3 separate regions of the Homo sapiens genome follow, and all the other regions are linked to region 2. Evidence: promoter capture Hi-C in human tissues and cell types (Jung and others, 2019). All regions are on one chromosome and are shown on one strand. Each heading gives the region's core, a stretch centred on a gene start or on the middle of the fragment in contact. The rest is flanking DNA. Distances are from core to core; before and after follow the strand shown.

Evidence for each region. The method cuts DNA at HindIII sites, captures the fragments that hold promoters and counts their contacts. A contact is called where the count stands out against the background at its distance.
Region 1: a fragment that was not itself captured here is called in contact with the fragment with the promoter of INA in region 2 in 3 of the 25 tissues and cell types used here (IMR-90 fibroblasts, lymphoblastoid cells and spleen).
Region 3: a contact is called between a fragment that was not itself captured here and the fragment with the promoter of INA in region 2, in 2 of the 25 tissues and cell types used here (bladder and spleen).

What each region holds. Positions count from the first base shown.
Region 1 is chr10:102,765,381-102,768,080 of GRCh38, reverse strand. The region is part of intron 1 of WBP1L (WW domain binding protein 1 like); the gene reads right to left. Among named protein-coding and RNA genes, the nearest start is that of WBP1L, 23 kb to the right of the region's middle. The HindIII fragment of the contact is 6,005 bases long and covers 1-2,700 here.
Region 2 is chr10:103,275,675-103,278,463 of GRCh38, reverse strand. It overlaps INA (internexin neuronal intermediate filament protein alpha), which reads right to left and starts at 1,326. Exons shown (of 3, transcript NM_032727.4): 1 at 188-1,326. The coding sequence starts at 1,252. RefSeq lists an enhancer at 307-911. The HindIII fragment of the contact is 4,832 bases long and covers 1-2,789 here.
Region 3 is chr10:102,793,237-102,795,936 of GRCh38, reverse strand. All of the region lies in intron 1 of WBP1L (WW domain binding protein 1 like), which reads right to left. Among named protein-coding and RNA genes, the nearest start is that of CYP17A1-AS1, 38 kb to the left of the region's middle. The HindIII fragment of the contact is 6,115 bases long and covers 1-2,700 here.

The DNA of each region.
Region 1 (2,700 bases), core at 17-2,516, 510 kb after region 2:
AACAAACTAAAAAACCCCAAAGAGATGGATACTGAAATAATACGTAGGGTTTCAGTGGATAAAATGAGCACACTACGCAGAGCAGAGCATGAATAAAAGTATGGAAACAAGGACGCATGGGGCATACGTCCAAAGGCAGAAAAAGATGACGCAAAGATTAGTTGGGGGTAGAATGTCAAGGCCCTACACATGTACACATCTAATGAGTGAGTATCTTTGACCAGCACAGTTTTTCTTTCTGATGATTACAGTAGCAGCATGAATATCAAATATAGGAATTTCTATTTTAGTGGAGTATTTTAGGCCCTCATTTTGCTTGTTTGATATTTACTACTAAAATATGGTCAATCTTGGAGTTGATTTTGTTTTATTGCAGAGGTTGGGGGAGGTGGAAGGAAGATACAGATGAGAACTTTGGGGCTTTCCCAGTCATTGACCTCAACCTCACAGAATCCTGCTCTCGGTCTCCAAAGTGGGCCAGAAAGAGTCCTAGGTTCCTGACTCCACCCCATGTCATTGGTGCAGCCTCAGTCTTTTATTTTTTTTGAGAGACAGGGTCTCATTATGTTGCCCTGGCTGGGGTGCAGTGGCTACTTACAGGGGCCATCATAATACACTGCAGCCTCAAAATCCTGGGTTCAAGTGAGCCTCCCACCTCAGGCTCCTGAGTAACTGGGACTACAGGCATGTGCCACTGCACCCAGCTTTAAATGGAAAGAAATAAAAGTAGCAGAAGCTGAAACTGGTTTGCAACAGCTTCCTAAGGTTTCTGCCTCTTGCCTCCCCACCCCCCAAACAAGAAAATCATTTTGTTGTTGACAATCACTGCAGAAATATTTATTACTTTCGTAGGCTGCACAACAATTCGCTGCCATCTCCAGAATGTGCAGGGGTCTCTGAAACTCAACACTGTCAGTGGGCCTTCACCAATAGTTAATGGGCTCTCACTGGATCTGCAACTTGAGCTTCATCAAGTACAAAGTAGCCTTGTTTGTTTTCATATCAAAATGCTAGGTTCGTGTTTTTCCTACCCTGGAAACAGTTTAACCCCAACCATACTGGCAAGTAGCCAAGAATTACATGAAAATCAGCAGGCTGCAGCTCATAGCTATCTCCAGATACATTTCATGCCTCCTCACAATTGCTCTCCAAACCAAAGATCGGAATAAGAACAAAAGGAGGGATGTAGATCACACCAACTACATGAAACACACTCAGATGAAATTTGTTTTTTGCTTTTTTTTTTTTTGAGACAGAGTCTCGCTCTGTCGCTCAGGCTGGAGTGCAGAGGCGCAATCTCGGCTCACTGCAACCTCCGCCTCCTGAGTTCAAGCAATTCTCCTGCTCAGCCTCCCAAGTAGCTAGGACTACAGGCTCGTGCCACCATGCCCAGCTAATTTTTGTATTTTCAATAGAGACATGGTTTCACCATGTTGGCCAGGCCGGCTTTTTGTTTTTGAGACAGGATCTTGCTCTGTCACCCAAGCTGGACTGCAGTGGTGCGATCATGGCTCACTGTAGCCTCCAACCTCGCAGGCACAAGCAATCCTCCCACCTCAGCCTCCCAAGTAGCTGAGACTACAGGCGTTTACTACAATGCCCAACTTATTTTTTTTCCTTTTTTTTTTTTTTTTTTTTTGAGACAGAGTTTCGCTCTTGTTGCCCAGGCTGGAGTGCAATGGTGCGATCTCAGCTAACTGCAACCTCCGCCTCCCGGGTTCAAGAAATTCTCCTACCTCAGCTTCCTGAGTAGCTGAGATTACAGGCATGCGCACCATGCCCAGCTAATTTTTGTATTTTTAGTAGAGATGGGGTTTTTCCATGTTGGTCAGGCTGGTCTCAAACTCCCGACCTGAGGTGATCCGCCTGCCTCGGCCTCCCAAAGTGCTGGGATTACAGATGTGAGCCACTGCACCTGGCCCTGGCTAATTTTTTTTAATCTTTATAGAGGCAGGGTCTTCCTATGTTGCCAAGGCTGGTCTCGAACTCCTAGGTTCAAGTGATCCTCCTGCCTCGGCCAGATGTAATTTGGAAAGAGAACCATTAGGAAAATTAAGCTTCCAGGTCTCCACCAATCTGATTTCATCTTTCACTGTTATTTAAACTTTGGGTGAGATAAAGAGAGACATGGTCTATATTAAGTGGGAATGTGGGTACAATGGTGGCTGACCCAAGAAAAAGGCTAACAGCAAGGTCATTTTATGACAGACATCTCAACTCTCTCTGAGTCCTTAGAAGCAGTTCTGGGTGCTCTAAGCATTCTCACTGTCCAGAAAGCAATCATCTTGGTTGTGCTTTTATAGGAAAATCCACTCACTTCTTACATGCAACTCATAAACTCAACAAAGCCATTTCACACTTTATGTTTTAGATATTTCTTCTCAGCCCTACCTTCTCCTCTAAAGTAAGCAACTTAGGGGTAAGATGTGAAACGTTCACTTCCATATCCCTCACAGGACCAAGCACGATGCCTTGCACAAAGCAGGCCCTCAAGAAAAGATCGTCACATGAATGAAGAGATAAAGACGTGACTAAAGAGAGGATCCTGGCTGGGTGTGGTGGCACATGCCTGTAATGCCAGCACTTTGGGAGGCCAAGGAGGGTGGATCACTTGAGCCCAGGAGTTCGAGACCAGTCTGGCAACATGGCAAAACTCCATCTCCACAAAAAAAATACAAAAATTAGTCGGGCGTGATGGCA
Region 2 (2,789 bases), core at 77-2,576:
GAGGGGCGTTCCCTAAAATTAACATTAAAGACTCCAGGGTTTTTTGTTAACCAGCGCCTCCAGCCGCGGCTCTTCTCTCCTCTCTTTTGCCCTCCCCTTAAGTCCTGGGGCCCAGTTTTACCAGAGGAAGAGGGTACGCGCGGAAGAGGGCAGGGCACCCCTCCCCACGCCCAGCCCCGGCCCTTACCTGGTAGCCAGCTACCTCGGCACTGTGCCGCTCCTCCAGCTCCAGGATCTGCCTCTCCAAGGACTCGTTGGCCCCGCGCAGGCCCTCGATCTCGATGGTGCGCGCCTGCAGCTGGCGCCGATACTCGTGGATCTCCTCGCGGCTGGCCCGGATGGCCTCGGTGCTGCGCGCCGCCTGCTCGTTCAGGTTGGCAAACTTGGACTTGTACCATTCTTCCGCGGACTGCAGGTTCTTAGCGGCCAGGGACTCATACTGGGCGCGGATCTCCCTCAGAGCCGAGGTCAGGTCTGGTTTAGCCACAGTCACGTCCACCTCGGCCGCGGCCTGCGACGACGCCTGCAGCGTGGCCAGCAGCTCGGCTACCTCCTCGTCGTGCACCTGGCGTACGAAGGCCAGCTCGTCCAGCAGCGACTCCACCTTCTTCTCCAGGTCCAGGCGGGCCAGCGTGGCGCCGTCCACGTCGCGCTGCTGCGCCTTCAGGGCGCGCTCGGCGCCTTCGCGTCCGCGGCTCTCCTCCTCGCAGCGCGCCCGCAGCCGCTGCACCTCCTCCGCCAGCCCGTCGCGCTCCAGCAGGGCCTGCGAGCGAGCCGAGCTGGCCTCCTCCAGCTGCGCGCGCAGGTCGCGCAGCTCGCGCTGGAAGAGCTCGCCGACGCGCGACGGCTCAGCGTGGCGCTGTCGCAGCGCGGCCAGCTCGGCCTCCAACGCGCGGTTCTGCGTCTCCAGCTGATGCACCTTCTCGATGAACACGGCGAAGCGGTCGTTGAGGCCCTGCAGCTGCTCCTTCTCGTTGGTGCGGATGATCTTGTACTCGTTGGTGCGCGCCGCCGCCTGGCTCAGGTCCAGCCCGTCGGACGCCGGCGGCCGGCGATAGGCCAGGCCGAGGCCGAGCGACGAGGCCGAGGAGCAGGCGGCCGAGGAGGCCACATTGCTGCGGGACAGCGACTGCGAGCGGAAGCCGCCCGCGCCGCCGGCCCCAGAGAGGCGGGCGGACAGGCGAGAGCCATCCCCGAACACCTTGCGGTAGGAGGAGGAGGAGCACAGGTAGTGCTCCGAGCCGAAGCTCATGGTGCCGGGATCGGGGCCGGACGTGCGGCTTCAACGCGAGCTACAGAAGAAAGGAGAGGTGCGGCAGGCAGGGCGCGGCGGGGCGGTGCGCCCGGCTTTTAAGGCGCCGGGGCTGGGGCGGCGCGCTGGGGGCGGAGCTCCTGCTCAGAGTCTGGCCGGGAGAGGGAAGGGGGGCATCCAGGAGTGGGGGCGGGGAGGCGCAGTGACTACCGCAGCTGCGCGCGCGACGACCTGGGGCGCCGGGACAGGGCCATCTGCATCGGAGTCGCCCCTTTCCGCAGCGCTTCTCCCCAAGAATCGACTGCTTCGGAAGTGACTCGAGCGGAGGGGTGCCTAAACGACTGAGGTTTCCCATCCGGAAACCACACAGCTCTGTCGCATCCCTTGACCCTATCCCCTCTTCTTTAACCGACTGGGAGGTTAGGGGTTTCTGGGAGGTGTCCCCTACACCCACCCTCATCCTGAGGTGAGGCGCACAGAAAGCCTTCCCGAGGGCGAGGTCGTGTTTTTCCAGTTACAGTGAGGACCTGCAGAGCGAGCCCTTGTCCCCTTCCTCAGGGTCCCCAAGGAGAAAGGTGGGAGATGCTACGTCAGAAAGCATCTCTCCAGCTGCCCCTCTGCAGCTCCTGGGGAGGCTCCGGGCGGAAAGATGTTCAGCAAGTGCCTCTCCCAGAAGAGAGGGGAGATCAGTAAAGAAAGTGACCCCGAGCTGCGGAGAGTGGGGAGAAGCGGCGGTACAGAGGGGAAAAGAGGCCAGACTTGGAGAAGCAGGAGGCGCTGGGAATTGCTGGGGCTCATCGTTAGGGCACTAAAGCATGGCACAGGCCAGGACCACAAGCTGCTGGAAAGGGGGCTGCAGACTTTTGTGTTTAGAGCATTATATTTTAAAATATTTCGAAAGGAGCATTTTTAAACCAGGAGATTTCACCTGTAAAGAAATTGGATTTCTGGCTTCTTCTGAAAATGGGAAGAGCTGGGATGCCCACAGTGGCAGAGGTGAGTTGCCCTTGCCATTTGTATAAGAAGTGTGCTCTCCTGTTCACTACAGTCCCTGCCATTCTCCACTGAATTACGCCCCCCTTCTTAATTCATTTACTTTACCTCTCTGACCCTGTGGGCATTTGAGATTTCAGTTTGTGTAAATCCAGCAGGGCAGGTTCTCAACTGGCTTCAGAGAGCCACTCCCTGTGCAGATCTCTTTTTGGAGAAAAGAGATCCCTGCAAAAAGATTAAACTCCAGGAGTGGGGGAGAGTGCTGGTGACTGAGCCGGCCTCTTCTGCCACATGGTAGGGTTGGTGGGGCAGGGGGTGAGAATCAAAGAATGGAATCTGAAAAGATGAAGGCTGGGAGGGGTCAGTGTGGCGTCTGTAATATGTACCCACTTGCAAGCTTCTAATATCATTCAGGATGTGGATATGGCTTTGGAGAGGGAGTAGGAAGACCTTTTTAGTTATATCCCAGAATTCCAGACTGAGGGCCTTTTATTGATATTGGAATCTTCAAGGACGTAGTTCTAGGATAAGTTTTACTTCATGG
Region 3 (2,700 bases), core at 101-2,600, 480 kb after region 2:
GACACTGGCTATCTAGTCAACTTCTCCTCTGAAGCCTGGTGCGTGTGGAAAAAGCAGATCTATGCTTGCTACTTTGGCCAGAACACACACTCTTTGACTTCAGAGCAAAACATGCCTTTCATAAAAACATCAGAAAGTTTCTCCCCAGTTTACCAGGCCCTGCGAATGCCATTCTTCCGGCACTGGCTTAAAAGAGCACAGTTCAAAGTGTCCACATAGTTTCTAAAAGAGGCAGTGGTGCCTACACTTGGCACAAGAAAGAATCCAATGACACTTCTGTCTCAGGAAAATTCACCAGAGGCAGCCCAGGCTCGGAACACATGGCTGTCAACTGGTCTTAAGTGAGACATAGAGTGGAATGCATTTGAAATCTAAACAAGTGGCATCCTCATGACCTACTGCTGTCAGTCAGCTTTTCTCTCGGATCTTCTGTGCACCGAGGCAGGGGGCCTGGAATAAACAAGACCTCACTCTGCTTCACCGTTCTGCCTCCGCTTTCCCAGGGAGAGCAGAACAGTGGAAGCATCATTTAATCCAGTGTTCCTCAAACAGTTTTTAACACAGTACGGAAGTTTCTCGGCTTACGATGGGGTCATGTTCTGGTAAACCCATCATAAATTGAAAATATCGTCAGTCAAAAATGCATTTAACACAGTTAATCTACTGAACAGCATAGCTTAGCCTAGCTTACCTTAAACTGCTCGGAACTTACATCAGCCTATGGTTTGGTAAAATCCTCTAACACAAATTATTTTACAATAAAGTATTGAATATCTCATGTCATCTACTTAATACTGTATTAAAAATGAAAAACAAATGATTTCTACTGGCTGCATGTATCAATTGCACCACCATAAAGTTGAAAAATCACTAAGTTGAACCATCACAAGTTGTGGCCATCTATATATCTAGTCCCCTGTGGTCCTTCTCCCTCCTCTAAATACAGAGTCCCTGAGCTGCCTGGGATAGTCTTGGTTATGGGAACTGTCATTTTCTGCTGCAGCGGTACGAAAGAAGGTGTACCTCTAGCAAGGAAGAGGTGAAGGAGGATTCAGGAGATAGTGAGATATGAGTGCCAAAGTGAGTTCCTTCAGAGAGACATGCTGGTGTCAGTCAATAGTGGTATGGAAAACCCAGGAGCCTTGGGTTTGGCCCCAGCTCTCCTCGCACCCCCCTACTTTTTTCTTTTTCACTCAGAGTCTAACTGTTGCCCAGGCTGGAGTAGAGTGGCCTGATCACAGCTAACTGCAGCCTCGACCTCCAGGCTCAACTGATCCTCCTGCCTCAGCCTCCTGAGTAGCTGGGACTACAGGTGCACGCCACCACACCCGGCTAATTTTTGTAGATCCCAGCTCTATCACTACACAGAAATGAACTTTAGGCAAGTTACTCAATGGCCCTAGGTCTGGTTAAGATCACCTGTAATGTCTCCTTAAATTTTCTTTTGTGGGGGTGGGGAGGATGGAGTCTCACTCTGTTGCCCAAGCTGGTATGCAGTGGCGTGATTTTGACTCACTGCAACCTCCACCTCCCGGGTTCAAATGATTCTCCTGCCTCAGCCTCCCGAGTAGCTGGGATTACAGGCGTGAGCCACCACGCCCAGCCGTCTCCTTCAACTTTAAGGTTTTATTATCCTCCCCATCCCCTTTCCACCCTGACATAGCAGCCTCAAGCCAATGCAAGATATCATGAAATCTATGTCTCCTCTCATGCAAATCCACAGCAAAGAACAGTGGTGTGGAAATGCTGCCTGGTGATCTTCCACCCCTCCTTATATGAGGAGCCTAATTGTTGCACACCTAGGACTCAAACACCTCCCGGTGGCTTAAGATCTACACAAAGCCTAAGTAGTTAAGAGTTCGCTGGGGCCAGGTGTGGTGGGTCACGCCTATAATTTCAGCACTTTGGGAGGCCAAGGTGGGCAGATTACTGGAGCCCAGGAGTTTGAGACCAGCCTGGACATGGCAAAACCCCATCTCAACCAAAAAAATAATAATACAATTAGCTGGGTGTGATGTTGCACACCTGTAGTCCCAGCTACTTGGGAGGCTGAGGTGGGAGGACTGCTTGAGCCCAGAAGGTTGAGGCTGCAGCAAGCCATGATTGCACCACTGCACGCTAGCCTGGGTGACAGAGCCAGACCCTGTCTCAAAAAAAAAAAAGAGTGAGCTGGATCTGGGTTCAAAGCCCAGCTTTTACAGTAGGGCTATTAACTGTGTGACCTTGGGCTAATTAAATTCTCTGGGCTCCTACTATCAACATTATTCTGTGAGCCACTATTGCTGAGCATGAAAGACCATCCAAAAAGCACTTTGCCTTCACTCAGAATTGTTTCAGAACAGCCAAGTTCTCTGTGGCAATGTGGGCTGCTCCAGACACATGAAGAAGAAAAGAAAAAGGAACTGGAAAGAATGCAATGGAAAGGTCAAATATGAAAAATTATCAGCACCCTTTATGATTATCCTATGCTTTTACTATTTACGTATTTATTGGAGACAAGGTCTTGCTCTGTTGTCCAGGCTGGAGTACAGTGGCACGACTGTAGCTCACTACAGCCTCAAACTCCTGGGCTCACGTGATCCTTCTGCCTCAGCCTCCCGAGTAGCTAGGACTACAGGCATGTGCCACCATATCTGGCTTTTTTATTTTTACTTTTTTGGTAGAGGCAGGGTCTCACTATGTTGCTCAGGCAGATCTCAA